7 separate regions of the Homo sapiens genome follow, and all the other regions are linked to region 4. The links are contacts of gene promoters, found by promoter capture Hi-C in blood cells and fetal thymus (Javierre and others, 2016). All regions are on one chromosome and are shown on one strand. Each heading gives the region's core, a stretch centred on a gene start or on the middle of the fragment in contact. The rest is flanking DNA. Distances are from core to core; before and after follow the strand shown.

Region 1 (4,201 bases), core at 628-3,127, 130 kb after region 4:
GTGGAATGTTAAATATACCTTTCCCAAAAAGAACACCACCTCAATTAATCAGATTACTGTAACTGTGTGCTAGCCTTGTGTGGAAAATGTTGAAACATTGTTAAGCTTCCCAAACCTTATTTATATAAATGACCCCCAAAACTTCTCCACTTTGGAGCACTGGCTTCCATTCTTTGGAATCTGTGTTCCTGGATGCCTATCCTTAAAATTTGTGCTTGACTAAATGCTATATTTAACCATATTTCTTGAATCTCTTTAAGGTCGACACTCTATAGCAACCACCGCACTATTTTAAGTTACCAATTCTGTTCAAGATTCTAGGCTTTATTTTGATTGTAAACTTGGGGCTTGGCACATCAACTGTGAGATTTGTTTCTTTCATATCATTCCTTAATACTTAGAACAATGCAGGACACATACTAGAAATTCTTGTTGAATTGAATAGAAGAAATGAACTGATGAATGAGATATTGGGTACCATAACTCTTTTGACCAATGCCCTCTGATCACTTTAAATCTCAAGAAGAGCCTCAATTTCAATAATTAAAATTTCCAAGAACTTTAATAACCAGCATTCTGAATTTCATAAAGTTAACATTGGCTTCTCTCCTGGGAAGCTTTCAGTTTGGGAGGAAGATGGCCAACTTCTCCATTTTTCTACTGTGTGCTTCTCCTTCCTGTGTTAATATACTTGGCTGACTCTGAATCTTCCAGAATTTGGTAAAAGTACCTAAGTAGGAGTAGCAAGGGTGTAGGAACGCCTTACCTCACCGGTACTGTGATAACCTGGCATTGATGGTCTCTGGGCACCAGGGAATGTTTTGTGGGTTCTTGAGAGATCTCCCATTACTGGGAATCTTCCACAAGGTGGAAGCCATGTGTCGATGATAGAGCAACAATTTAGTAGAAGCCCATCGTCCCGATGATTGTGGAGTCTACATAGTTGCCTGGGACTGTCTATCTGGACTTTTGTGCAAAAGAAGTAAAGTTTAATTTTATTAAACCTATTGATTTTTTTTGCTGAACATACCCTAACTAATAAAACTATGTTGCCATTGCCAGTAAGGTGTGTTGTCCCCTCTGAGTGTTTAAGATCCTAGCAGGAAGCCATGTTGTTCATCATGTTATACCTATGGATTTTGTGCAGTGCCTGGGCATAGACTATATGTTCAAAAATATTTGTTTGATGAATAGATCAACCTGATATTTTTATAGGGGCAGGCTGGTTTGATGTGCCACATTTTATTATTGAAACCCAATTTTTAATACAGCAGTTAATTTGGCTGAGTTTAGTATTGTTATTGTTGACCACTTATCCCCTCAATTCTCGTCTCTCGGAGTCATTTTTTTTTTTAATACTTTAAGTTCTGGGTACATGTGCAGAACGTGCAGGTTTGTTACATAGGTATACATGTGCCATGGTGGTTTGCTGCACCCATCAACTCCTCATCTACATTAGGTATTTCTCCTAATGCTATCCCTTCCCTTGCCCCCAACCTTGCCCTGGGGGAACGCCCCAGTGTGTGACGTTCCCCTCCCTGTGTCCGTGTGTTCTCATTGTTCAACTCCCACTTATGAGTGAGAACATGCAGTGTTTGGTTTTCTGTTCCTGTGTTAGTTTGCTGAGAATGATGGTTTCCAGCTTCATCTGTATCCCTGCAAAGGACATGAACTCATTCTTTTTTATGGCTGTATAGTATTCCATGGTGTATATGTGCCACATTTTCTTTATCCAGTCTATCGTTGATGGGCATTTGTCCCAGAATCTTTTTTTTTTTTTTTTTTTGAGACAGAGTCTCACTCTGTCACCCTGGCTGGAGTGCAGTGGTGTGATCTCAGCTCACTGCAACCTCCCTTTCCTGGGTTCAAGCGATTCTCCTGCCTCAGCCTCCCGAGTAGCTGGGACTAGAGGTGTGCGTCACCACACCTGGCTAATTTTTGTATTTTTAGTAGAGTTGGGGTTTCACCATGTTGTTCAGGCTGGTCTCTAACTCCTGACCTGGTGATCTGCCCGCCTTGGCCTCCCAAAGTGCTGGGATTACAAGAGTGAGCCATCACACCCCGCCCAGATGATGTTTTAGAAGTCTAGTCTTTGGGCTGGGCGCGGTGGCTCACGCCTGTAATCCCAGCACTTTGAGAGGCCGAGGTGGGTGGATCACAAGGTCAGGAGATCGAGACCATCCTGGCTAACACAGTGAAACCCCATCTCTACTAAAAATACAAAAAATTAGCCAGGCTTGGTGGTGCATGCCTGTAGTCCTAGCTACTCAGGATGCTGAGGCAGAAGAATCGCTTGAACGCGGGAGGCAGAGATTGCAGTGAGCCGACATCGCGCCACTGCACTCCAGCCTGGGCAACAGAGTGAGACTTCATCTCAAAAAAAAAAAAAAAAAAAAAGAAGAAGTCTAGTCTTTGACCAGGTTCCCCTCATCATCCACCAGGATACTCACAGCCGTCCTGGTTGTTCTTGTCTGGGCAGCGGCTGTGCTGGCTTCCAGGGTCACCTCTGGCCACTGGCAGGTAACAGGCTTCTCTTTGGCCACAGCTTTTTTCATGCTGCTTTGTCCTGACTGTGGCCAATCTAAGCCCTTCCTTAAGGCCCCAAATCACAGCTAATACTATAAGCTGCAGCACTGAATAATAATTAAGCAAAGACTTGGGGTTAACAAGGACACCAACTACAGTCTGTTTTCTAAATGAGTGAAATTGCCCAAATAGCAAAATTTCCACATTGAAACAAAAGTTTAAATTTCAGTCTTCATTGTTCCATTTGTCTCAATGGGCTTTCACTGGCTGATTATGGGGCAACATAGATTCAAACTTTGGTTTCTAAAATATTTATAGAATATCTATTATAGAGGGCTGCAAGCAAACCTGCCTGACCTTCACTGTAGGGGGATATATTAGCTTTGTTATACTGGACAGGAAGCAACCAACTGTCAGTTTTAGAGAGAGACAGATCTCAACCTTCCAAGGCTGACACAAACATCCAGGAAAAGGTAGTCTGAAACAAAATGGAAGTTAATGCTTTGGCTCACAAGAGATGCAGAAACGCAAGAGCTTCATGAAGAATTATGTCCCAACAGAAAGCAGCCATTATATCCCTTGAAAATACCTTTGCACATCTGAGAAGCTTTTTTTTTGAGTAATGTTAAGAGTAACAAAACAATTTCAGAATGCAACCCACTTGGAAAATTATCCTTAGAGTAAAATCTTAAAGGAAAAAAAGTGTCATATCAAGAAATTGTTAAGATTGCTAGCCAAGAGCCAAGGAGTAAGGATAGCCTCAGAAACCATTTTTACATACATCCTCTAGTGTAACATCATAAACAGAAAGTCTGTGCTAGACATTTATTTCTTGGTATTACACCACAACCGTCTGATGATAAGCAGAAATTATTTGCAGATCAAGACAATTGTTCTGCAGTCTGGATGTCCTCAGATGACTGATAAAGCAATTCTAGGGTTCCCAATATTCACACAAACTTTTCTCTTTGAGGAGGCTGATACCTGGTTCACAGCTTATTTCCTTTTTATTATTCACCATTTTGGCTTTGCAGGCATTCAAGACGTTCTATATTTAGTGTAACCGTTCCCCCTTATGAGATGGTGTGATATTATAAAGGATTTTTAACTCTTTGCAGGAAAATCAGTTTTACCGTTAGTCCCTTATTTATGACAGGGATATCACAACTCTCATATTTTGTAGTATTTTTAATTATTTCTTTTATTTTTTTCTGGGATGGAATGGTATGATAGGAAACATACCATTTTAAAAAGAAAGAAAAGCTGATCTTAATTGAAAAAATTAAACTCTGATTTATATTAACTTCTAAGTGATTGTAGGGTTGGGATTTAAAATTACATGTTCTCCATTTGTGCATTAGAAAATGTCATGTGTGTGTGATACTTCCTAGTTTATAATATTAAAATACACATATGTGTATATTTAGTTAGTGATCCATAAAAAGAGCTACTTTGAAAATTAAAATTATTTGTAATGATCAAAACAATGTCCCACTAATAAAATTTTATACAAAGGAAGCTCTCAATTTGTTAATTTAAATTAAGTTCACATTTTCACCTGTTAAATTTTCTTTTTTTAATTTTAATTTTTTGTTTATTTATTTATTTTTATTATACTTTAAGTTCTAGGGCACATGTGCACAATGTGCAGATTTGCTACATATGTATATACATG
Region 2 (4,289 bases), core at 205-2,704, 110 kb after region 4:
TGGTGGCGAGCGCTTGTAATCCCAGCTACTGGGGAGGCTGAGGCAGAATAGCTTGAACCTGGGAAGCTGAGGGTGCAGTGAGCCAAGATCGTGCCACTGCACTCCAGCCTGGGCAAAAAGAGCAAAACTCCATCTCAAAGAATAAAAAACAACAACAACAACAACAACAACAACCAAAATGTGATCCCAGACCAGGAGCATTAGTATTAGTATCATCTGGGAACTTAGAAATGTAATTTCTGTTTTTTGTTTTTTTTTTTTGAGACGGAGTCTTGCTCTGTCACCCAGGCTCGAGTGCAGTGGTGTGATCTCGGCTCACTGCAAGCTCCACCTCCTGGGTTCATGCCATTCTTCTGCCTCAGCCTCCCGAGTAACTGGGACTATAGGCACCTGCCACCACGCCCGGCTACTTTTTGTATTTTTAGTAAAGACGGGGTTTCACCATGTTAGCCAGGATGATCTTGATCTCCTGACCTTGTGATCCGCCCGCCTCGGTCTCCCAAAATGCTGGGATTACAAGCGCAAGCCACCGTGCCCAGCCTAGGAATGCAATGTTTGGGCCACACTCCAGACCTATGGAATCAGAATCTCTGAGAGTAGGCCCAGCAGGTTTTTTAAAACAAGCTTGCCAGGTATTTCTGGTGCATACTCAAGTGTGAGAAACATGGTTAAAGAATAGATTGCATTGTGGTGCTAATTAAGAGGCTCTTGCAGTAAAATGAGACATGAGACTTGAACTTGTAAGGAAAATGAGATACAGTGAAGTAACCAGGTTCCAGAGATGTGTGGGTGAGAGAATTGGCAGGAATTTGTGAAGAACATTGGGAGTGGAGGTTAGTGACTGTTAGGAGGAATCAGTATGATACTTACAGTTTGCTGGGGTAGATGGGGGTGCTCTTCACTGGAATGAAGATGATGAGTTTCACTTTGGACCAGGAGATATCCACATGTTCACATTTCTTCTTCTACTAGAAGCATTTGTATAAGGTACAAAGAATTTGACATTTGAGGATCAAATGGGAACAGAATAGCATAAGTTCCTGAATTTTTACTTTGGGCTACAAATTATGCAATTGGAACTTAATTTAATGAGATGCTTCAGACTGACTGGACACCTACCCAGTAGTCTTTGTTGCCCTTCTTGCCACATGAGAAGTTTGTGGGGGAAGTTAGGGCATAGCACCAGTACAACCTGGTATGTATTTTAAATCATCTTAGTTTTTGTTTAGGGAAACCTGTGACGTTTGCGGTATTGTTTAAAAAGTATTTCTCAGTAAGAAGATATAAAGTTTCTGAAAGTATAAAATATATTATCTGAGCAGAATTTAAAAGTTAATGTGTATGAACTTATACGGTTACTATTTTTTCTTCTTTACTATCTTTGTGTTTATAGAGTAAAAGGTAGATAATAGTATATAACCCTGCTTCATTTGTACATGTTATATTCATTTCTTGCATTCTTGATTTGAAATCTGTACCACTCTATTCGCATGTCCTCTTCTATCACTGCCTTTTTTCCTATGCTTTAGTAATTTATTAATTATGGTATCAGAAACTAGGCTACCTGAGCAAAATGTATCCACTCGAAAGAGATTTCCTCATAACTATATAGAAATCATTCTTATATTCTTCAAAACATGATGTTGTGCAAATTTGATAGAAAAACAAATGTCAGTCTAGGCCAAGTTCTCAAAATTAAGTAATTTTTAATAAGCACAAAGACAACAGTATTAGTTGTTGGCATTTTCATGGTTTACTTTTTCTTCATTGATCTAAGTTGAGATTTTGTTTTTCATTTTGTGAAATATCTAGAAACATTTTAGTTGTTTTTAGAAGATTAATAAATGAAAATAAAATAGTTCTGTGAATGTATATATTCTGATATTTAATATTGTCATTGTATTAATATATTTTTTATTTACAATATAATTTGTCTTGAGTGATTTTGGAACTTGAGCTTTTTCCTTCTTGAATCTGATTGTTTTTAAGGAGCTTATGCTCTGTTACATAGTCTTAAGTGTTATTTTCAGGAAAATTGCTTTTAAGAAGAAAAAAATATATAACTTTTTTGTTTATTTTTCTTCCATAGCCTTTGTTTAGTACCAGTCACTCTTTTACTTTCCAATTGTTCTAAGGCTGATGTAGATGTCATAGTTGATCTTCGGCATAAAACAACAAGGTAAAGATTTGTTTAGTGCAAGGTTATTTGATTTGGGAGCAATTTAATATTTTGAAATTATGCAAATAATTACCTAACATGGATAAGAAAGTTACTCAAGCTTGTCCTGGTTTTTTGTTTGGTAATATAGAAGGCTTACAGATGTGTTACAGAGGCTTTAAATATTAAAGATTTTTTTTTCTTGATTATAAAATAGTACTTAACAACAAAAAAAAATCCAGATCCACAGTCCCACATCAGATACTCCTAGAGCCAAATGCTTTTGGGAATTCAGAAATTTTTGAATTTTTGGAAAAATACTATAAAGCGTATACTTAATATTTTTGTATAACACCCCAAACAGGATCTGGGACAGTTCTCTGAAATCCAAACACACACCTATATATGTGATTTTGTGTATCATAAATTTATTAATACTTTATTGGGTACTGGGTTTTCCATTTTTCAATATTATAAACAGTTTCAATATTAAAAGCATTCATGTACAGACACTTATATATGGCTAACTAAGGAGTTAAAAGTTTAGGTTTGAAATCAAGTTCCAACATATACTAACTCTTAGGGCATTAAATGAAATAATCCACTTTTAGCATTGTGCCTAGAGAATAGAAACTATTAAATAATAAATGTTAGCTGTTATAGTAATGATGTTGCTATTATTAATAAACAGTTGGCTTCATAAAATAATTTTTAGAAATAGAATTGTTAGATGAAAGGGATGTTTGTTTTCTTCTTGAGATGGAGTCTTGCTCTCTCATGGGCTGGAGTGCAGTGGTGCAATCTCAGCTCACTGCAACCTCCGCCTCCCAGGTTCAAGTGACTCTCCTGCCTCAGCCTCCTGAGTAGCTGGGATTACAGGCGTGCACCACCATACCTGGCTAATTTTGTATTTTTAGTAGAGACGGGGCTTCATTATGTTGGTAGGCTGGTCTTGAACTCCTGATCTCAGGTGATCCACCTGCCTCAGCCTCCCAAAGTGCTGGGATTACAGGCGTGAGCCACCGCGCCCAGCTGAAAGGGATATGTTAATGTGACTTTGGGAAAAAAATTAAAAAGAAAAAAATCCTGCAACTTACATTTTCCTCCTCCCTTAGTCCAGAAGCACTGGAAATCCATGGATCATTCACATGGCTTGGACAAACACAGTATAAACTTCAACTTAAAAGCCAGGAGATTCACAGTCTGCAGCTGAAAGCATGCTTTGTTCATACAGGTGTTTATAACCTTGGAACTCCTAGGGTATTTGCCAAGTTATCGGACCAAGTTACAGTGTTTGAAACAAGTCAGCAGAATTCCATGCCTGCCCTGATCATCATCAGTAATGTGTGACAACTTGGAAATTTGTACTGAAATCCACAATAATCAGTTTTTGCTGGATGGGTTTTACAGCAGTATTTGATATACCTAACTTGTTATGGAGGTTGATTGATATCTGATCCCTGCAAAATACTTTGACTTGTCATTTTGTTGATGATGCAAAGCACGTTGGACTGAGAATACTTAACATTCTTTTTCTGTATTTCTTTAAACCCTGAGAATAATTTACATGCTCATAATACAGGATATCAGCATATTTGTGCACCTTATTAAGCCCCATCTTAAGAAAACACAAAGTCTAAGTCTGCTGTTACAACTTGTCAATGGTATACGAATATTAGGAGATGATTCTGAGAAAGGAAAGGCCTTGTTGGCAGTACTCCTGTTAAGCCATTAGTCTCTAAATTCCAGCTTTACTGTGAAGTTCTATAGAGTGTTAAATACAAATTTTCCTGTCTTGCTTCACACAGTTCCTTAAAATCAGTTTTGAACTTTGGTCATAGAGTCTTCATATTTCAGTATTTGGTGGTCCCTATGACTTATACATAACTTTGTAAAAAGAAAAAAAAATTTTTTCTGATGCTTTGAATATAGTTTTGAAAGGAGTTTTGACTTTTTTCCCCTCATTCATCTCAGTATAGAGTGCGCTATTTCACAATACGATTTTTGTCATTAAAATTACCATATTCTTTATTATATAACGTTAACTATTGAGTTGATCTGTTTAAAATATAAATCTCAAGTTAATTAAAAATAAGCTTTTCAAAAATGTATTATATTTATAACAAATATA
Region 3 (3,938 bases), core at 788-3,287, 120 kb before region 4:
TCAGGGACCGGACATCTGCCTGTCCTGATTTGTGACCTGGCAGCTTAGAAGAGCTTCACCTCATCCTACTGATGCCTTCAGTTGATCCCCTTAGCCCTGTGGTTTCTATTTCCTGGCCTTGAGCATGTTGACTCCAAATAGGCCCTTTCTATGCAATGAATCTTCATTTATTGTTCTTTCTTTTCAAGAAACCATAAAGCCAAAAATAACCAAAATCATTGAGTAGATTTTCTCTACCTTTGTTTTACAAATGACCAAATTGAGGACCAAAGAAATCCTCTTGCTAGGAAAAGGGGAAAGATCTCCTGACCAAGGCTGCTTTAATAGGATTGAAACAAAACAACACTTGATGTGGGTGGAAACAGATGTTTCTTTCCATTTTTGATCAGATGAGGAAGATTCTTTTGAAAGGATAATTATTCCTCTAAATCCTTAGGATATAGATTATTCAATGCTGGTCAAGATAGTATCAAATTAAAAAAAAATAGTCAAAATCAAATCAAAATGGATTAAAAACTTGAATCTAAGACCTCAAACTATGAAACTACTAAAAGAAAACATTGGAGAAACTCTCCAGGACATTGATCTGGGCAAAGATTTCTGGAATAATACCCCACAAACACAGGCAACCAAAGCGAAAATGGACAAATGGAATCACATCCAAAAGCTTCAGCACAGCAAAGGAAACAATCAATAAAGTGAAGAGACAACCCACAGAATGGGAGAAAATATTTGCAAACTCCTCATCTGACAAGGGATTAATAACCAGAATATATAAGGAGTGCAAACAACTCTACAGGAAAAGAAATTAGTAATTCAATTTAAAACAGGCAAACGATTTAAACAGACATTTCTCAAAAGAAGACATATAAATGGCAAATAGGCATATGAAAAAGTGCTCAGCATCATTGATCATCAGAGAAATGCAAATCAAAACTACAATGAGATATCATCTCACCGCAGGTAAAATGGTTTTTATCCAAAAGTCACACAATAACAGATGCTGACGAGGATGTGGAGAAAAGGGAAACTTCATACACGGGTGGTGGGAATGTAAATTAGTACAACTACTACGGAGAAGAATTTAGAGGTTCCTCAAAAAACTGAAAATCAAACTATCATATGATCCAGCAATCCTACTCCCAGGTATATTCCCCAAAGAAAGGAAATCAGTATATTCAAGAAATATCCGCACTCCCATTTTTATTGCAGTACTATTCAGAATAGTCAAGATTTGGAAACAACCTAAGTGTCCAGCAACAGACAAGTGGGTAAAGAAAGCATGGTACATATGGAGTACCATTCAGTCATAAAAACGAATGAGATTTTGTCATTTGCAACAACATGGATGGAACTGGAGGACATTATGTTAAGTGAAATAAGCCTAGCACAGAAAGACAAACTTCACATGTCCTCATTTATTTGTGGGAGCTAAAAATTAAACCAATTGAACTCATGGAGATAGAGGGTAGAATGATGGTTACCAGAGGCTGGGAAGGGTAGTGGGGATTGGGGGAAGTGGGCATGGTTAATGGGTACACAAATATAGTTAGATAGAATGTATAAGATTTAGCATTTCATAGCACAACAGGGCAATTAAAGTCAACAATAATGTATTGTACATTTAAGAGTATAGGCCAGGCACAGGGGCTCACGCCTGAAATCCCAGCACTTTGGGAGGCCAAGGTGGGTGGATCACCTGAGGTCAGGAGTTTGAGACCAGCCTAACCAACGTGGTGAAACCCTGTCTCTACTAAAAATACAAAAATTAGCTGGGTGTGGTCACATGAGCCTGTAGTCCTAGCTACTTGGGAGGCTGAGGCAGGAGAATCCCTTGAACCTGAGAGGCGGAGGTCACAGTGAGCCAAGATCGCACCACTGCACTCTAGCCTGGGCGACAGAACGAGACTCCCTCTCAAAAAAAAAAGAGTATAATTGGATTGTTTGTAACACAAAGAAAGGATAAATGCTTAAGGTGATGGGTATGCCATTTACCCTGATGTGATTATTACACACTGCATGCCTGTATCAAAGTATTTCATGTGCCCCATAAATATATACACCTACTATGCATCCACAAAAATTGAAAGTACATATATGGTCATACTTCTCACTTGCCCTTTAATTTTTTTTTTTTTTTTTTTTTTTAGAGATGGGGTCTCACTCTGTCACCCAGGCTGGAGTGCAATGGTATGATCATGGCTCACTGTAACCACAAACTCCTGGCTTTAAGTAACCCTCCCACTTTGGCCTCATAAAATGCTGGGACTACTGGCATAAGCCACGGTGCCTGGCCACTTTAGCGCTTTAAAGGAAGCAATGGTTCTCAGCGTGGGGTCCTCAGACCAGCAGCATTGTCACCATCTGGTAACTTGTTAGAAATGCAAATTTTCAGGCCCTAGCTCAGACCTATTTTATCAGACACTCTAGGGGCAGAGGCCAGCAATCTATGTTTAAACAGGTCTTGTAGATGATTCTCATGCATGATAAAGTTTGAGAACAACCGCCTTAAAGACAATATAATTTCTTTCAGAGAAACAAGATAAAATAGTAGGCGAACAAATGAGAAATTCTAAATCTAATACCTAGGCTGTAATGGAGAACACCTTTCTTAACTCCAGTACCTATAAAAAAAACAGTCATTTGGACCAGGCGCGGTAGCTCATGCCTGTAATCCCAGCATTTTGGGAGGCTGAGGTGGGCAGATCACCTGAGGTAAGGAGTTTGAGACCAGCCTGACCAACATGGAGAAACTCCGTCTCTACTAAAAATATAAAAATTAGCCAGGTGTGGAGGCATGCCCCTATAATCCCAGCTACTCGGGAGACTGAGGCAGGAGAATCGCTTAAACCCGGGAGGCAGAGGTTGCAGTGAGCCAAGATCGCGCCACTACACTCCAGCCTAGGCAACAACAGCAAAACTCCGTCTCAGAAAAAAAAAAAAAAAAGTCATTTGGGGTTCTATTTTACTGAGAATCATAATTAGGCCAGAAATATGACTCAATCATAAAAAAGCTAGTACAGTGCTGTATGGATAACATTCAATTATCTAGAATAATGGTTGTTTCCTCTGTTCTGCATTCACTGACCATTCTTGGAGTGCTGTGTTCTATTTTAAGTGCTGGGTAAGGAAAACATCAATAAACTGCAATAGACACAGAAGGGAAATTAAGATGTTGAAAGGTGTAGAAACAAAATCCTTGTAATAACTGGGTTACCATTCTGGAAAACTTCAAGCACTCACACAGTAAGTTACTTATCACCTTGAGAGGGAGGCTACATTAGATCACCTCTGAGGACCCTTTTCTCTACGACTGTGTAAAAATCTTTATTAGCTCAATACTATAAACAGCCCAAGTATAATGTAGAAATAGAAATGCTGCTGTATGTCTATTATGTATAAGCTTGAGGAAGAGAGGTAAGGAAGAAGGTTTGTAATTTTTTGCTGTGTAAAAAAATCATTGTTGGCATAAAGCCAAGTGCATTGAGTTTCTTTTGCACCTGTTCTCATTCTCCTACTGTAATCCATGAGAATTAGAAAAACTTCCCACTCCTTTTGCTCTTTTTTTTAAATTTTTTTTGAGATGGAGTTTTGCTCTTTTTTATTGTTTAATGTTATTATCTTTTTTTCTATAATTGTCTTTTTTTTTTTTTTTTTTTGAGACGGAGTTTTGCTCTTTTTGCCCAGGCTAGAGTGCAACGGCGTGATCTTGGCTCACTGCAACGCAATCTCTGCCTCCTGGGTTCAAGTGATTCTCCTGCCTCAGCCTCCCGAGTAGCTGGGATTACAGGCATGGGCCACCATGCCCAGCTAATTTTGTATTTTTAGTAGACATGGGGGGTGGTTTCTCTATATTGGTCAGGCTGGTCTCGAACTCCTGACCTCAGGTGATCTGCCCACCTCAGCCTCCCAAAGTGCTGGGATTACAGTCGGGAGCC
Region 4 (4,121 bases), core at 405-2,904:
TTCCTAAATAAGATTGCTGCAAGATGAAAAGCTACATCTCTCCCCCGTATTTTGCCCACAAGGAAATTCTTAGTGTGCTGTTAAAACTTCATGGCAATGCAAATTGATAGCTTATCTTTACAGGTGGCCACCCCAGCCCGCCAGACACAAATGCCTATCTGATTGTTCCCCTACCCCATTTTGTCTGTTATCTTATGAAAAATGCAGACTCCCACATTCTTCCTCTGCCCATTTTATGTCATCTTATGTAAAAAATGCAGATTCACTGAGCCAGAGAAAGGCAAGAATTACTATTTTCTCCTACCGCCCCCTTACATGAAAACGGTGTGCTTCTCAATATCCCGCCCTTTCCCCTTTAAATTTGGAGCACTCAAAATCATCTTCGAAGAAAGGCATAGACCTGTTTCCTGGGCTCGTACTTAACTTCGGCAAATAAATCTCCTAAAGTGATGGACTCTCTTATAAATTAATCTGTAGCCAAGGCATGTCATCAATATGTCCTACTGTGCCTTCCTACCTCCCATTTATCAACTTACATGAGAAGCACACATCTTACTTGTCATAAATTATTACCTTAGTGAAAACCTGAGGGTGTCAAGAAGTCGAAAAATTTGAGACATTGACGTTGGGGAAGACACCTTTAATTAGAGCACCATAAAATCATGATAGAATGATACATTTTTCCTTGCCTTATATTTTTGGCATGCAAAACAGAAGGAGCTCAAACAATTGAGTGACACATTAGTAAAATTCCTTTCATTCATTTCTACTTACAAGGCACACACCATTGACCTCACCCCGTCCCCCCCTTTAAAACAATATTTGACCCGCGCCCCCCCCCCTTTAAAGCAATCTTTGAAAAGTTAGGAATGAAAGCCGGTTCAGGACAGTACACAGTACACAAATACTGGCTTCCCCTACCTCCACCACAAGCAAGTAAACATCCTAGCACAGTGTAAAAAGGAAGAGGCTGAGGACGAACCACGCGGACATTTGCAGGCACACCCCTTCCCTGCGACCAACAAAAATGCAGTAGCGCAATTACACTTGAAGGAATTGCAGCACTCACAAAAGCACACATTCTGTTCAATGGTTGAGTCCACATAAAGTGACAGTCCGTTTCTAAAAGCATGGCTGTATTTAAAGGACACATGGTCTGTTCAGGTCCGCTTCAGCGAAACCCCAAGCACTTCCGAGAGATCCACTCCCTCTCTCCGAGCAGGTGCCACTAGCTGCTCCGCCGGCGAGCGTAGGAAGCAGCGCGACCAACCAAATCGGTTGCCCACAACAGCCAGGGACGTCAAAAAGGCCAAACTGCGTGGGAAGCGAGCGTGCGCCTCCATCACCACGACAGCACCCGTCTCGAGGCTCCACCTGCCGCTAGTAGGTGGCTCTCAGCTCTGCTCTGCTAAGGGCGAGCTTGAGAACCCGGCCTACAGTTGTGCACCTCCCCCCGCCCCCGCCCCCGCCCCCGCCCCCGCCCACCGCACTTGTAGCCCCGCCCCGCCCAGGGAGCTTCCGTCACAACACTTCCGGCTCCAGCCTCCCAACCGGCCTCCGTCGTTTTTCACTTCCCTCTCCTCAGCTCTCTTCCCTTGCCCCTACCGTCTCCTTTAACACAGTCACGTGAGGGACGCGCGCGGGGGCAGCTGGGAGTAGTACTGCCGGTTGGTCAGGGTTCGGCCTCAACATGGCGGTTCCGGCCGGGCAGTGACCAAGGTTTTGCCGTCCGAAGGACTAAGTGGTGACTGTCGGCGTCTCCACCTATCGGGGTGGAATGCGAGCACGCGGGGACGAGCGCTGAGAAGCGGCGGTGACGGGAAGGGGGGGGTCAGTGGATTGTGCCCCAGAAACCGAAGCGGCGGCGTCTGTTCCTTCTTGTTTCTAGGCTCCAGTGCGTTCGGGGCCCCGCCCGGCCGGGCCAGGCCGGCGGGCGGCGGCGGTAGCTGCTGCAGCCGCAGGATAACCTCGCAGGGTGGGCCGGAGGGCGGGCGCCGCCGCTGCCTGTGCTGCGGCGATGGCCCAGTGTGTACAATCAGTGCAGGAGCTAATCCCGGACTCCTTCGTCCCCTGTGTCGCTGCGCTGTGCAGCGACGAAGCCGAGCGGCTCACTCGTCTCAATCACCTCAGCTTCGCGGAGCTGCTTAAGCCCTTCTCCCGCCTCACTTCCGAGGGTATGTGGTATCCTCCCTTTTCCAGTGGGCTCCCGCAAAGCCGTGGTCGGGAGAAGGAAGTTGCGGGCGGGCAGGGAAGAGAAGGGCAGTGTTTACGTCCTGGAGCCGGTACCGTGGCGTCTGGGGCTGTGGCCCCGCGGTGCTCCGGGGGCGGCTGGAGGAGGGACCGTGAGGTTGTCAAGACAGCGCAGTCCTAAGCTCCAGTTTCTCTGGGCACTTCCTTTCTTCCTCGGACAACCTAGGTCGTTAAGTAATTGGTGCAAAGATAAACGTGAGTCTTCGAGAACGGCATTGAGACTGTTCTCCACGGCCATAGCGAAGGAATTAGGCACTTGCAAAGCAGCTAAGGTAGGAAAATGCTGCCTCTTAGACCGACAGGGTCTGAGTAAGGAAGACCTGTCATCCTCCCTTGGATGTTAAACTGGACTTTGAAAGTAGTTGTGGATGTTATTACATTCTTGTAGCGTTGAGGGTCATCTCTGTCTGAACTACCGTGTAGCTGTTTTACTAATATATTCTTAGCTATACGGTATTTTGCTTAACCTCTCAAGAAAATTAAAAGTATTATAAGAAGAATAAAACTTGAAGCAGCTTTTTGCCCTAAGGAAGAGGAAGCAAGCCCAAGTTGTGGTTAATTTAACCTGGATATTTGGAGTTATCTATAGTTATAGGGATGGAAATGTCTTCTCTTGTTAATGAATGTCTTGTTAAGAAGCTACCCGTTTTCTCCAGTTTTGGATTTTTTTATTAGGAGAAAATAATGTGGTAAAGCTTCAAGCATGTTTTAGCCAATATCTTGCAAACAACAAAGTCCAAGTAAAGTTTTTTTTGTTAAGGTCGGTAAGAACTGAAGGGTTTCATAATAAGCCTGTGTCAGGCAAACGACTGTGATGTTTGTTAGCTTAATATGACTTATCCACAAAAAAAATCAGTGCTGTACCATTTTTGCGCTACCATGTTTTTTGGGAGAATAGTTCCATTATAAATTAGCTTTTGTTTTTAGCGGAGAGAGGGAGCTGTCCAAAAAAACAAAGTTTGGAAACTTTTGGATTTTCTTTAGCCTGTATCGTAGCCATCAGTCTCAGTTCCTTCAGTGTTGGACTTAAGAGCAACAAAATGCCCTACGTTTTTTATTTTTTTGTTATTTATTTATTTATTTATTTTGAGATGGAGTTTCGCTCTTGTTGCCCAGACTGGAGTGCAGTGGCGCGATCTCAGCCCACCGCCACCTCCGCCTCCCAGGTTCAAGCGATTCTCCTGCCTCAGCCTTCTGAGTAACTGAGATTACAGGCATGCGCCACCATACTCGGATAATTTTTGTATTTTTAGTAGAGACAGGGTTTCTCCATGTTGGTCAGGTTGGTCTCGAACTCCCGACCTCAGGTGATCTGCCCGCCTCGGCCTCGCAAAGTGCGGGGATTATGGGCGTGAGCCACCGCGCCCGGCCTTGAATTCCTAAAAAAACACAAACACTTGAGCTAGTTTTACTTTTATATGTGTACTCTTTCCTTCTTTCTTAATAAATAATAATAATGCTAATACCTGATACTTGCTTTGTGTAACTTTTCTTTTTTAGTCCTCATTGAATCCTGTTATTGCAATTTTAAATTTGAGGACCTTGAAGCATAGAAGTGTTAATTTGTTCACAGTTTTGCGTCTGGGAAAGATTTGAAACAGGCAGTGTGACTCAAGACATTGTGTTCTTAATCATCTTATCTCCTGACAGTATTTAGAATTATGTATTTACACCATAGAGCAGTGCTGTCTAATTGAAATATAATGTGAGTCACAGGTATAATTAAAAAATTTTCGGCCGGGCGCGGTGGCTCACGCTTGTAATCCCAGCTCTTTGGGAGGCCGAGGCGGGTGGATCACGAGGTCAGGAGTTCGAGACCATCCTGGCCAACATGGTGAAACCCCGTTTCTACTAAAAATACAAAAATTAGC
Region 5 (4,326 bases), core at 1,082-3,581, 65 kb after region 4:
GTTGAATAGAAGTGGTGTGAGTGCAGAGTGTACATCCTTGTCTTGTTCCCCTTCTTAGGGGGAATGCTTTCAACTTTTCCCCATTCAATATGATTTTGGCTGTGAGTTTGTCATATATGGGTCTTATTATTTTTAGGTATGTTTCTTACAGTGCTTAGTTTGTTAAGAGCTTTTATCATGAAGGGATTTTGGACTTTATTGAATGCTTTTTCTGTATCTATTGAGATGATCATATGGTTTTTAATTCTCTTTATGTGGTGAGTAACATTTATTGGTTTGCAAATATTGAACCATCCTTGTATTTCTGGAATAAAACCCACTGGATTGTGATTAATTTGACTTTTTGATGTCCAGCTGGATTTGGTTTGCTAGTATTTTATTGATGGTTTTTGCATCTGTGTTCATCATGGGTATTGACTTGTTTTCTTTTTGTGTGTATGTCCTTGCCAGATTTTGATATCAGGATGATATTAGTTAAGGAGGAATCTTTCTTCCTTAAAAAAAAAAAAATATATATATATATATATATATATATATATATTTTTTTTTTCAATAGTTTCAGTAAAATTGGTACCAGCTCTTCTTTGTGCATATGGTAGAATTTGGCTTTGAATCCAGCTATCTTGGGCTTCATTTGGTTGTTTATTTATTTTTTTTTTTAATTACTGATGGAATTTTGTAACTACTTAATGACCTATTCAAGATTTGAGTTTCTTCCTTGTTCAGTCTTGGGAGATTGTATGATTCTGGGAATTAACCCATTTCCTCTAGGTTTTCTAGTTTGTGTGCATAGAGGTTCATAGTATTCTCTGAGGACCTTTTGTATTTCTGTGGTATCAGTTGTGATGTCACCTTTGTCATATCTGATTGTGCTTATTAAAATCATCTCTTCTTTTTCTTGCTTAATCTTGCCTAGTAGTCTCATCAATTTTGTTTGTGTTTTCAAATAACTTTATTTTGTTGATTCTTTGTATGATTTCTTTGGTCTCAATTTCATTTAAAGAATAAAGATCTGCTCTGATCTTTATTTCTTTTCTTTTGCCAGCTTGGGCTTGGTTTGTTCTTGTTTCTGTTTCCTCTAGATGTGACATTATTAATTTGAGATCTGTCTTTTTGATATAAGCATTTAGTGCTGTAAACTTTCCTCTTAACACTGCTTTTGCTGTATCCAAGAGGTATTGATATGTTGTGTTTCTGTGTTCATTTGTTTCAAAATTTTTTTAAATTTCTGCCTTAATTTCATTGTTTACCCTAAAGTCATTCAATACCAAGTTGCTTAGTTTCCATGTACTCGTATGGTTTTGAGCGTTCCTCCTGGTATTGATTTCTAATTTTATTCCACTGTGGTCTGAGAAGATCCTTGATATGATTTTGACTTTTTAAAATTTTTTGAGACTTGCTTTGTGACCCAGTATATGGTCAACTTCAGAGAATGTTCCATGCACAGATAAGAAAAATGTATATCCTGTAGTTGTCAGTTGGAATCTTCTGTAGACGTCTATTAGGTCCATTTGGTCAAAAGTCCGATTTAATTCCAGAGTTTCTTTGTTAGTTTTCTTCCTCGATGATCTGTCTAGTGTTGTCAGTGGGGTGTTGAAGTCCCCCAGTATTACTGTATGGCTGCTTGTCTTGTCTTCAGTCTAGTAGTATTTGTTTTATAAATTTGGATGCTCTGGTATTGAGTGTGTATATGTTTAGGCTAGTTAAATCTTCTTGTTGAATTGAACTCTTTATCATTATATAATTCCCTTCTTTGTCTTTTTTTTTATGTTGTTGGTTTAAAGTCCATTTTATTTGATAACAAGAATAACAACCCCTGCTCTTTTTTGTTTTCCATTTGCGTGATTGATCTTTCTCCACCCCTTGACTTTGAGCCTGTGGATCTCGTTACACAGAAGATAGGTCTCTTGTAGATAGCATATGCTTGGATCTTGTCTTTTGAGTAGAACAATTAAGCTATTTTTGTTCAAAGTTAATATTGATAAGTGAGGTTTTGTATTTGTCATAATGTTGTTAGTTGCTTTGTAGTCCCAATTGTATAACTGCCTTATAGGATCTTTGAACTTTGTACTTACGTGTATCTTTATGGTTAGCAGGTATCATCCTTTTGTTTCCGTGTTTAGAACTCCTTTGAGCATTTCTTGTAGAGCTGGTCGGGTGGTGACAAATTTCTTTAGCATTTTCTTGTCTGAGAAATACTATTTTTTCCTTCAATTATGAAGCTTAGTTTGGCAGGCTGTAAAATTCTTGGCTAGTAGTTTTTTTGTTTTTGTTTTTATTTGTCATTAAAAAGGGTAAAAACAGGCCCCAAATCTCTTTTTGTTGGTAAGGTTTCTTCTGAGAAGTCTGTTGTTAGTCTGATAATATTTACTTTATAGATTATTTGATCCTTTTTGGGATGGGGTGCACCAGTTGCTCATCCTGAGCAGACAGAAGCTTCCTTATCACGCCCCGGTCAGAGGGCTCACAACCATCAGTTCATGTAGACTTTGTCCATTAGGCTCTGACCAGAGTACACTTCCACCAAAACGGGCAGCTGCCACCAAAATGGGCTCAGGGCGGAACTTCTTCCTCTAGTACAGAGTAAACAGCTTTGCAGCTTGTCCACCTTCTGTTGCCCGGATGCTTCTCTGTAGGGAGGGGGAATTGGGCCTTGCCCTTCCTGCAAGCCCAGTTGGCATGGGGTCACTTTTTTTTTTTTTTTTTTTGAGACAGAGTTTTGCACTTGTTACCCAGGCTGGAGTGCAATGGTGCGATCTCGGCTCACTGCAATCTCTGCCTCCTGGATTCAAGCGATTCTCCTGCCTCAGCCTCCCGAGTAGCTGGGATTACAGGCACGCGCCACCACGCCTGGCTAATTTTGTATTTTTAGTAGAGACGGGGTTTCACCATGTTGGTCAGGCTGGTTTCAAACTCTCAACCTCAGGTGATCCACCCGCCTTGGCCTCCCAAAGTGCCTGGGATTATAGGCGTGAGCCACCGTGCCTGGCCATGGGCTCACTTTTTTTTTTTTTTTTTTTTGAGACGGAGTCTCCCTGTTGCCCAGGCTGGAATGCAGTGGCGCGATCTTGGCTCACTGCAGGCTCCGCCCCCCGGGGTTCATGCCATTCTCTTGCCTCAGCCTCCCGAGTAGGTGGGACTACAGGCGCCCGCCACCTCACCCCGGTAATGTTTTGTATTTTTAGTAGAGACGGGGTTTCACCGTGTTAGCCAGGATGGTCTCGATCTCCTGACCTTGTGATCTGCCTGCCTCGGCCTCCCAAAGTGCTGGGATTACAGGTGTGAGCCACCGCGCCCGGCCAGGCTCACTTTTAGCTGTGATGGAGCCACCACAAAAAGCATGAAAAGTGCTTTCCCCAAGGACACGTCTGCCAGCTCCCAGCAGGGAGAACCTCTCCTGTGTTCACAACAGTGGATGGGGTGGGCGGGAAATGATCCCCTCTTCATGTTCATTTCCAGCCGCTGGGGCTGCCCACTTCAGCGATTGTTGCTTGCTTGCATTACCTTTGTCTCAAGGTGGGGCTTTGGCAGGCTACTGTCCCCCCTTCCCCTAGGGGCAGCCTAAATTAACGGTTACATCTCCATGGGTCTCACACCTTCTCTGGGGACCCACTGGTCTCCTAAACTTGCTAATGTCACAGCAGTTGTGAATATGTTAGGGATCTGGTGGTGCGGTGGTGACTCAAGAGCAGAGATTTCCTGGGCAGGGCAGTGGTATCTCCTGTCTCAGTTCAGGCCTGAAAGGAGGGCGGGCATGCCTGTGTGAGCTGGCCACCCACATCCTTGTCCCTGGGACGTTCTCAAACTGCCACTGTTAGTGTTGTCCTGCATCATGAGGGCAGAGGGACTCCCCATCAGTTGGATGGTGAACAGATGGTCAGAGGGGTGAGGGCAGCAGAGAAGTACTCCCACTTACCCTTTCCATGGGGTTTTGTGTTCCTCAGCACTCGATCCCTGCCAAACTCTTGTTGTTTTTCTTTCCTGCACTCTAGTTTCTTTCCATGGGTTCTTCATCATATCCTGGCTGTCTTTTCTCAGTTTTCTGTTTGGATAATTAGTTACTTTGATCTTTCTGAGGAGAACTGGCATCTGAGGATCTGAGGTCCCTAGTAAGTGATCTTTTTTTTTTTTTTTTTTTTTTTGAGATGGAGTCTCGCAGTGTAGCCCAGGCTGGAGTGCAGTGGCACAATCTTGGCTTACTGTAAGCTCCGCCTCCTAGGTTTATGCCATTCTCTTGCCTCAGCCTCCTGAGTAGCTGGGACTTCAGGCGCCCGCCACCATGCCCGGCTAATTTTTTGTATTTTTAGTAGAGACAGTGTTTCACCA
Region 6 (3,871 bases), core at 1,097-3,596, 85 kb after region 4:
AGCAAACTCCTTTAATTTCTTACGCACAAGCACTATTATATATATGTATCATTCAACTAGACCATTTGATTTGTGTCTAGTCATTTTCTGTTACAGGCAAAGCCACAATGAATAATCCTAAGCATGTCATTTTGTACTCACACATGTATATCTTCAGGATAAATTAGAAGTGAGATAGTGAGTTCTTGGTCTTGTTTTCCATTTATATTTGAAGCTATCACAAATATCAACTATTTAAAAGGACTTTCAGCAACTGAGCATTTGAGGTAAAGGCTAAATATACTTGTTCTTTTTTTTTTTTTGAGACGGAGTCTTGCTCTGTCACCCAGGCTGGAGTGCAGTGGCGCAATCTCGGCTCACTGCAACCTCTGCCTCCCAGGTTCAAGCAATTCTCTTGCCTTAGCCTCCTGAGTAGCTGGGATTACAGGTGCGCACCACCATGCCTGGCTAATTTTTGTATTTTTAGTAGAGACGGGGCTTCACCATGTTGGTCAGGCTGGTCTCAAACTCCTGACCTCGTGATCTGCCCACCTCCCAAAGTGCTGGGATTACAGGCGTGAGCCACTGTGCCTGGCCTTGTTCTTCTTAAAGAGTCAAAATAGTGTATTTAGTAAACCTGTGTTCTGAAGGTACATGTGATCCTATACATAGTTGGTACCACTAGTCTTTTATGTGTTCTATCACTGTTACCATTTTACCAATGCTGTAACCTTCTTGATGGTATCTAGGTGTCTCTATGTATTTTAGTGTGTTTTTACACACTGAATACTCTATTTCACTTTTTGTTAATGCAGCTGTGTTGGATGTAATAACAAAATTAATAATTCCTCCACAAGTTTTAGCTCGACTATAAGCTTGACACTGACTAATCAGTACAGAGAGTCAGTGTCTTCAGTATAATGCTATGTCTAGCTTATTTTTTTATCCTATTAAATCTATGTGCGGGATTTCTACATTAATCCCTTGTTTTCTCATTTATTTTTAAAGCTTCTAATGTCCCCAAATTTCATCTGATTTTTTTCTTTTTAAGAATATGGCCATAATGAAGTCCCACTCACATTTAGATTCAAAAACATATTTTCACTGGAATTTCATGAAGTGACTGCCAGCTATAACTTTATTAGAACATTTCACTCATATTGTTACCTTTATCTTCCTGCTTGCTTAGATGTTAGTTGTGACATTTAAATATCTGTTTTTTTGTTTGTTTGTTTGTTTGTTTTTTGAGATGGGGTCTCACTCTGTCACCCAGGCTGGAGTGCAGTGGCACAATCTTGGCTCACTGCAACCTCTGCTTCCTGGGCTCGAGCAGTCCTCCCACTGCAGCCTCCCCAGTAGCTGGAACCACAGGCGTGCGGCTCATTTTTTGTAGTTTTGATAGAAACAGGTCTCACCATGTTGCCCAGGCTGGTTTTGAACTCCTGAGCTCAAGGGATCCACCAACTCTGGGATCCACCAACTCTGGCCTCCCAAAGTGTTGGGATTACAGGCATCAGCCACTGTGCCCAGCCAGTATACTTAAAGATCTTTTAAATGCAGATAACTTACTGTATGATTTCATTAGCCCAAATTTCTGTCTCTTTAAGCACAAGTCCACAATCCCTCATCTGAAATATTGAGGCCACATGTGTGTTGGAAATCAATTTAAAAATTTTTTTTAGAAGTGTGTGTGTGAAGTTATGTAAACCCCATTGCTTTGTGGCAGCACCTAGTAACCAAACATTAATATTTCTTGCATGAACTGTATTAATATCACACTAAATGGGAAAGAATATAAAAAGCCTCTATTAGGTCAGGTTTTGCCCCCACATGAGTTACTAAAAGCCTGAGGTTGGAGTTTTTTGGATTTTAAAATTATGGATATGAAATCATAGATCTGCCCATTCTTTCACTTTAAAACCCATAGTAAATCTGGCATATCTTTTCATCTTGATGATATAGACATAAGTAGTTGAGCTGCTTCTTTAGTTGACAGTTATAAGGGTTATAAAACTGATATTTACTTCATATAGCCGTGTTAAATTACTTTCAACTTTTCTGGTCCATAATCTACCAAGTTGTGAAATTTTGACATGTTAGCCCTCTTGTGTACTGATAGTATACCTTTAATTCATAAGTCTAGAATCACTACTGAGTGGCAGAGTAACATTCTTCTGTCTCATCATATTTTCTAAAATGGAGTCATTAACTGCCACATATTCAGGGAGATACCAAAGAATTAATGAAACACTTGTAAACCTTTGGTAAAAAAAAAAAAAAGTGTCTTAAAGTGTTATTCATTAGAGGTTCAAAATTTTTAACAGACAAATAATAATATTTTTTCCCTCCAATGCAGGTGTTCTTTATACATTTTCCTACAGGGCTTCTCTGTGGAGAAATCCGAAAAGCATATGTAGAATTTGTCAATGTCAGCAAATGTCCACTTACTGGATTGAAGGTTGTTTCTAAACGTCCAGAGTTCTTTACTTTCGGTGGTAATACTGCTGTTCTAACACCACTAAGTCCCTCAGCTTCTGAGAATTGTAGTGCTTACAAGACTGTTGTGACAGATGCTACCTCTGTGTGTACAGCACTCATATCATCAGCTTCTTCTGTAGACTTTGGCATTGGCACAGGAAGTCAACCAGAGGTGATTCCTGTTCCCCTTCCTGACACTGTTCTTCTACCCGGAGCCTCAGTGCAGCTGCCAATGTGGTTACGTGGGCCTGATGAAGAAGGTGTCCATGAAATTAACTTTTTGTTTTACTATGAAAGTGTCAAAAAGCAGCCAAAAATACGGTTAGTATTATAAAACTTATAAAATTTAACATCTATGTTCAATGTATATGCACATATTCAGATAAACATTTTGATATTTACTAACATGTTAAGAAATTACTCTGTTCCAGATTATGCAGGATATTTATATCTGAAATTGTCTCAAATAGAACTGTAAGTTCTAGGTACCCAAAAATGAAAAAATAAAATTTAACGGCACACATTTTTTTAGTTGCTTCTGTCTGTAAACTTCTCAATTGTTTGATACGATTTAAGTACTGTAGACAGAGCTATCACATAATAATGAAATTAACAGGTACCATGTATTAAAATAGGGCGTCATTTATGTATGAAGACAACCTGCCTGGTCGTCTCAGTCATCCTTTTTTAAGAAAATTGTTTTGTTTTACCTTTTCCCTAGTGTTCCCCCTTGCCCCACAAGAATGTATGAAAAACAGTACATATTTACAGAAGAGAAGATTATAATGGTGTTACAATAGATGATCACTGAAGAAATCAAAGCTAACTGGCTCATCCAGGATCTATGACCTATATTTTGTTCAACAGAATATTTTCTTTTGATACCTCCATTGTCATTTTTACAAAATTAACTAGGAATAACTTGGGAGGCTGAGGCAGGAGATTCGCTTGAGCCCAGGAAGTCAAGACTACAGAGAGCCGTGATTATACCGTTGTCCTCCAGCTTGGGTGACAGAGCAAGGCTCTGTCTCAAAAAAAAAAAAAAAAAAAAAAGATTTTAGCATTTGAATATCAAGGGAGGGATATGCAAGAGAGTAGTGGGTATTATTCTAGGGAGCGGCTGTATATATTTTATTTGTAAAGATTTACAGATTAGAGAACACAAACTGAATGTAGTTAGTTCAGCCACAGTGTAAAATTTTTGTAAAAGAAGTAAAGAGGAAGAAACCTTTGAAATGTAAAGCTTATATATGGTGAGGAGTTTTGAATACCAGGTTAAAGTTTGAACTTTATTTGGTAGTCATTCAGTAGCTTCAGAACCACTATTAGAAGCAAGGCTGGGCGCAGTGGCTCACACCTATAACCCCAGCACTTTGGGAGGCTGAGGTGGGCCTCACTTAAGATCACTTAAGGT
Region 7 (4,042 bases), core at 218-2,717, 95 kb before region 4:
TCCATCCTGGGCAACAGAGTGAGACTCCATCTCAAAAAAAAAAAAAAAAAAGTATCTCAAAGAAAAAAATCAAAATCTTTGTGATTAATCAGATAATGGGGGAGGGGGAGTGGTGGATTTCCACACAAGTTAATTGAGAGAATCCTCTTGTTTCTGACAGACACCAAGGTGGGATCAAGAATTGGATGATTAAACAATATAATGAGTTTGATTTTGTGTATGAATTTTATGTGAAGACAAAGTAAAAATAGGCAATAATCTATTATTAAGAATGTAAAAAGCTATTAATTTTGAGCATTTACTATATTCCAGACACTGTGTTAAAAGACAATCATCAGTTATATATATATCACATATATATTTATCATTTACCTTTAAAACCACCCTCTAACATGAACATGAACATGATCCTCTCCCCAGCTCCTCTTTTTTGTTGAGAGAGTCTTGCTATGTTGCCCAAGCTGGAGTGCAGTGGCACGATCATAGTTTACTGCAGCCTTGATCTCCTGGGCTCAAGCGCTCTTCCTACTCAGCCTCTGGAGTATCTAGGACTACAGGCGTATACCACTATGCCCCAGCTAATTTTTTTGATTTTTAGTAGAGACAAGGTCTCTTCCCAGGTTGGTCTTGAACTCCTGAGCTCAAGCAATCCTCCCGCCTCGGGCTCCCAAAGTGCTGGGATTACAGGCATGAGCCACTGCGCCTGGCCTCCAAACCATTTTCTATGTGTATGTTAGAGTGATATCTTAAAGATACAATCCTGGGCTGGGCATGGTGGCTCATGCCTGTAATCCCAGCACTTTGGGAGTCCGAGGCGGGCAGATCGCCTGAGGTCAGGAGTTCAAGACCAGACTGGCCAACATGGTGAAACTGTGTCTCTACTGAAAATACAAAAGTTAGACAGGCGTGGTGTTGGGCCCCTGTAATCCCAGCTACTCGGGAGGCTGAGGCATGAAAATCGCTTAAACCCAGAAGGTGGAGGCTGCAGTGAGCTGAGATCGCACCACTGCACACCAGCCTGGGCAACAGAGTGCGACTCTGTCTCAAATAAAAATAAAAATAAAGATATAAGCCCGATCTTGGCACTCCAAAACTTACTCTCTTTCTCTGGCTTACTATTGCATTTAAGATAAAATCTAGAATCTTCTACATAACCTTCAAGACCTCACATGATCTGGGGAAGCTGATATAGTACCCAAGTTGAAAACTGCAACAGGCAAGGTGTGCTTGATAGAGACAAATACTGCAAAGTCCAGATCAATACAGGTGGAAATATGTCACTGGGTTTGATAATAAAGCTATTCATTAGTGGTCTGCAACAGAGTAGCAGAACTGGAGGACATATCATAGAGGATCACTGGAGTAATGGGAAGAAGGGAAAATGGAGGTGGTCAATGAAAGCATTTGTTTGACAAATTACGGGTGATGGTAGAAGTTCAGGGTTTTCTGCAGATGATATATGTACATATATGAAATTGGAGGCTGGGTGAGATGGCTCACGCCTGTAATCCCAGCACTTTGGAGGCCAAGGTGGGCAGATCACTTGAAGCCAGGAGTTTGAGAACAGCCTGGCCAACATAGCAAAACCCTCTCTCTACTAAAAAGACAAAAAATTAGCCAGACATTGTGGCACATGCCTGTAGTCCCAGCTACTCGGGAAGCTGAGGCATTAGAATCACTTGAACCTGAGAGGCGGAGCTTGCAGTGGGCCGAGATGGCGCCACTACACTGCAGCCTGGGCGACAGAGCAAGACTCTGTCTCAAAAAAAAAAAAAAAAAAAAAAATGGCACGGACCCAAAGAGTGAGTGGTAGCAAGGTTTCTTGTGAAGAGCAAAAGGACAAAGCTCCCACAACATGGAAGGGGACCCAAGCCGGTTGTCACTGCTAGCTGGGGTGGCCAGCTTTTATTCCCTTATCGTCCCCGCCCATGTTCCGTTTCTGTCCTATCAGAGTGCAGTTTTTCCAATCCTCCCTGCGATTGGCTACTTTCAGAATCCTGCTGATTGGTGCGTTTTACAGAGTGCTGATTGGTGCACTTTACAGAGCACTGATTGATGCGTTTTACAGAGCACTGATTGGTGCATTTTACAGAGCGCTAATTGGTGTGTTTTACAATCCTCTTGTAAGACAGGAAGGTTTCCCAAGTCCCCACTCTACCCGGGAAGTCCAGCTGGCCTCACATCTCACCAGCACTTTGGGAGGCCGAGGCAGGCGGGTAATGAGGTCAGGAGATTGAGACCATCCTGGCTAACATAGTGAAACCGTGTCTCTACTAAAAATACAAAAAATTAGCCAGGCGTGATGGCAGGTGCCTGTAGACCCAGCTACTCGAGAAGCTGCGGGCAGGAGAATCACTTGAACCTGGGAGGCGGAGGTTGCAGTAAGCCGAGATCGCACCACTGCACTCCAACCTGGGTGAAAGAGCGAGAACCTGTCTCAAAAAAAAAAAAAAAAAAAAAAAAAGGTGCGTACCATGGGGTCAGAAGCAGAGGTGAAATGATAACTTTCGCAGGGACTTAAGCTGGTAACCATGAAAATAGGTGGGGTCACATACATACCAGGGTGTCACACTCAGCGCAGTTCTTATACTCTGATTTCATTCTTTTGGCTACATCAGTTGCTGGAACTCCTTCTGAAGGAAGATATGCCCGGCAATAAGGACAGGTCCACTTGTTGTTCTTTAGACTGGTAGCAATACAGGAACGGCAGAATCTACCCCAAACAGACCAAAAATACATCACTTTCCTTGAAAGCTATAAGGAGCCACCACCATGTATTCATTTGTGTAAACTGTAATTTAATGACACCTCGTACCCCATGAGCCATACTACCAAATTACAGGTCCACTTGCACCCTGCACTTCCCGAGAATTGCTTACCTTCCCAGCAAGACTTCTTTAGAATCACACATTCTTACCACATGCACTTTCACACATTTCAAGAAAAGTAAGAATTCAAAGTGGGTGAAATAGCTTTCCTATAGGCTAAGTTTAAACGATACTTTAAAGAATGTCTAAATTGGATTTTACCTCAAATTTCTTGAGAAAATATGTCTTTCTTCTGTGGGGTTTTGTGTGTCACATAAGAAAATAGCAGGAAGTCAAGGAAGTAAAAATACCAGACACATTATAATTCCCTATAAAACCATTTTCTCCTTCCCTCCCTTCCTCCCTCCCCTCCCCTCTCCCCTCCCTCCCTCCCCTCTCCCCTCCCTCCTTCCCTCCCTCCCTTCTTCCTTCCTTCCTTTCCTTCCTTCCTTCCTTCCTTCCTTTCTGGTCAAGAAATATGTTCTCTGGTTTATTTAAAGGTGCTCATTATGAAATCTTAACATAATCAACATTTCCAGAAAATTCTGACCTATTTATAGGAGTTGTTGAAGACTCCATAAACATAGAAATAAAAATGAGCATTTGGGTAATTTATACACATGAGCATGACCTGATGCCTCTTAAACTACTCAGCACATAATATCTATTTGGGAGTATTAATACATGTCCAAAGGTAGGCTTTTTAAATTTTAAGTATACTGTACATACTGGAAAGTTCTTATAAGCATATAGTTGAATGAAATTTCAAAACTGAACACATCCATATAACCAGTACCTATAACAAAAACAGCGTGGCCAGCCCCTAAAATTTCCCCTCTTGTTTCCTTCTCTTTTTTTTTTTTTTTTGAGATGGAGTCTTGCTCTTGTCACCCAGGCTGGAGTGCAATGACACGATCTCAGCTCACTGCAGCCTCCACCTCCTGGGTTCAAGCAATTCTCCTGACTCAGCCTCCCAAGTAGCTGGGATTACTGGCACCCACCACCACGCCTGGCCAATTTTTTGTGTTTTTAGTAGAGACAGGGTTTCACCATGTTGGTCAGGCTGGTCTCGAACTCCTGACCTCAGGTGATCCACCTGCCTCAGCCTCCCAAAGTGCTGGGATTACAGGCGTGAGCCACTGTGCCCGGCCTCCAGACACAATTCTATCCCCTCCAAAGTAATCACTGACTTTTTAAAATGTATTTTAACATATGAAAATTATACTTTTCAAACA

What was found. Contacts are between HindIII fragments. The CHiCAGO score rates a contact against its expected background, and 5 or more counts as called.
Region 1: a contact is called between a fragment that was not itself captured here and the fragment with the promoter of TRAPPC8 in region 4, in 5 of 17 cell types (fetal thymus, total CD4 T cells, activated CD4 T cells and 2 more). The highest score is 7.7, in fetal thymus.
Region 2: a fragment that was not itself captured here is called in contact with the fragment with the promoter of TRAPPC8 in region 4 in 13 of 17 cell types (activated CD4 T cells, total CD4 T cells, non-activated CD4 T cells and 10 more); the score reaches 11.3 in activated CD4 T cells.
Region 3: a fragment that was not itself captured here is called in contact with the fragment with the promoter of TRAPPC8 in region 4 in 10 of 17 cell types (neutrophils, total CD8 T cells, naive CD8 T cells and 7 more); the score reaches 15.5 in neutrophils.
Region 5: a contact is called between a fragment that was not itself captured here and the fragment with the promoter of TRAPPC8 in region 4, in 15 of 17 cell types (naive CD8 T cells, total CD8 T cells, total CD4 T cells and 12 more). The highest score is 12.4, in naive CD8 T cells.
Region 6: a fragment that was not itself captured here is called in contact with the fragment with the promoter of TRAPPC8 in region 4 in 16 of 17 cell types (total CD8 T cells, non-activated CD4 T cells, total CD4 T cells and 13 more); the score reaches 15.4 in total CD8 T cells.
Region 7: a contact is called between a fragment that was not itself captured here and the fragment with the promoter of TRAPPC8 in region 4, in 7 of 17 cell types (naive CD8 T cells, total CD8 T cells, non-activated CD4 T cells and 4 more). The highest score is 10.6, in naive CD8 T cells.

What each region holds. Positions count from the first base shown.
Region 1 is chr18:31,813,541-31,817,741 of GRCh38, reverse strand. No RefSeq gene overlaps it. Among named protein-coding and RNA genes, the nearest start is that of SLC25A52, 55 kb to the right of the region's middle. The HindIII fragment of the contact is 2,516 bases long and covers 620-3,135 here.
Region 2 is chr18:31,829,974-31,834,262 of GRCh38, reverse strand. It overlaps TRAPPC8 (trafficking protein particle complex subunit 8), which reads left to right. Exons shown (of 29, transcript NM_014939.5): 28 at 2,090-2,179; 29 at 3,274-4,289. The coding sequence ends at 3,508. Among named protein-coding and RNA genes, the nearest start is that of SLC25A52, 71 kb to the right of the region's middle. The HindIII fragment of the contact is 1,655 bases long and covers 627-2,281 here.
Region 3 is chr18:32,056,343-32,060,280 of GRCh38, reverse strand. All of the region lies in intron 4 of RNF125 (ring finger protein 125), which reads right to left. Among named protein-coding and RNA genes, the nearest start is that of RNF138, 34 kb to the left of the region's middle. RefSeq lists an enhancer at 2,077-2,612. The HindIII fragment of the contact is 2,736 bases long and covers 670-3,405 here.
Region 4 is chr18:31,940,661-31,944,781 of GRCh38, reverse strand. It overlaps TRAPPC8 (trafficking protein particle complex subunit 8), which reads left to right and starts at 1,654. Exons shown (of 29, transcript NM_014939.5): 1 at 1,654-2,174. The coding sequence starts at 2,018. RefSeq lists enhancers at 1,670-1,879, 1,981-2,759 and a silencer at 1,930-2,049. The HindIII fragment of the contact is 12,839 bases long and covers 1-2,947 here.
Region 5 is chr18:31,876,306-31,880,631 of GRCh38, reverse strand. The region is part of intron 12 of TRAPPC8 (trafficking protein particle complex subunit 8); the gene reads left to right. Among named protein-coding and RNA genes, the nearest start is that of TRAPPC8, 65 kb to the left of the region's middle. The HindIII fragment of the contact is 214 bases long and covers 2,225-2,438 here.
Region 6 is chr18:31,856,447-31,860,317 of GRCh38, reverse strand. TRAPPC8 (trafficking protein particle complex subunit 8) reads left to right here. Exons shown (of 29, transcript NM_014939.5): 20 at 2,336-2,778. Among named protein-coding and RNA genes, the nearest start is that of TRAPPC8, 85 kb to the left of the region's middle. The HindIII fragment of the contact is 2,713 bases long and covers 990-3,702 here.
Region 7 is chr18:32,035,787-32,039,828 of GRCh38, reverse strand. It overlaps RNF125 (ring finger protein 125), which reads right to left. Exons shown (of 6, transcript NM_017831.4): 2 at 2,560-2,713. Among named protein-coding and RNA genes, the nearest start is that of RNF125, 19 kb to the right of the region's middle. The HindIII fragment of the contact is 7,519 bases long and covers 1-4,042 here.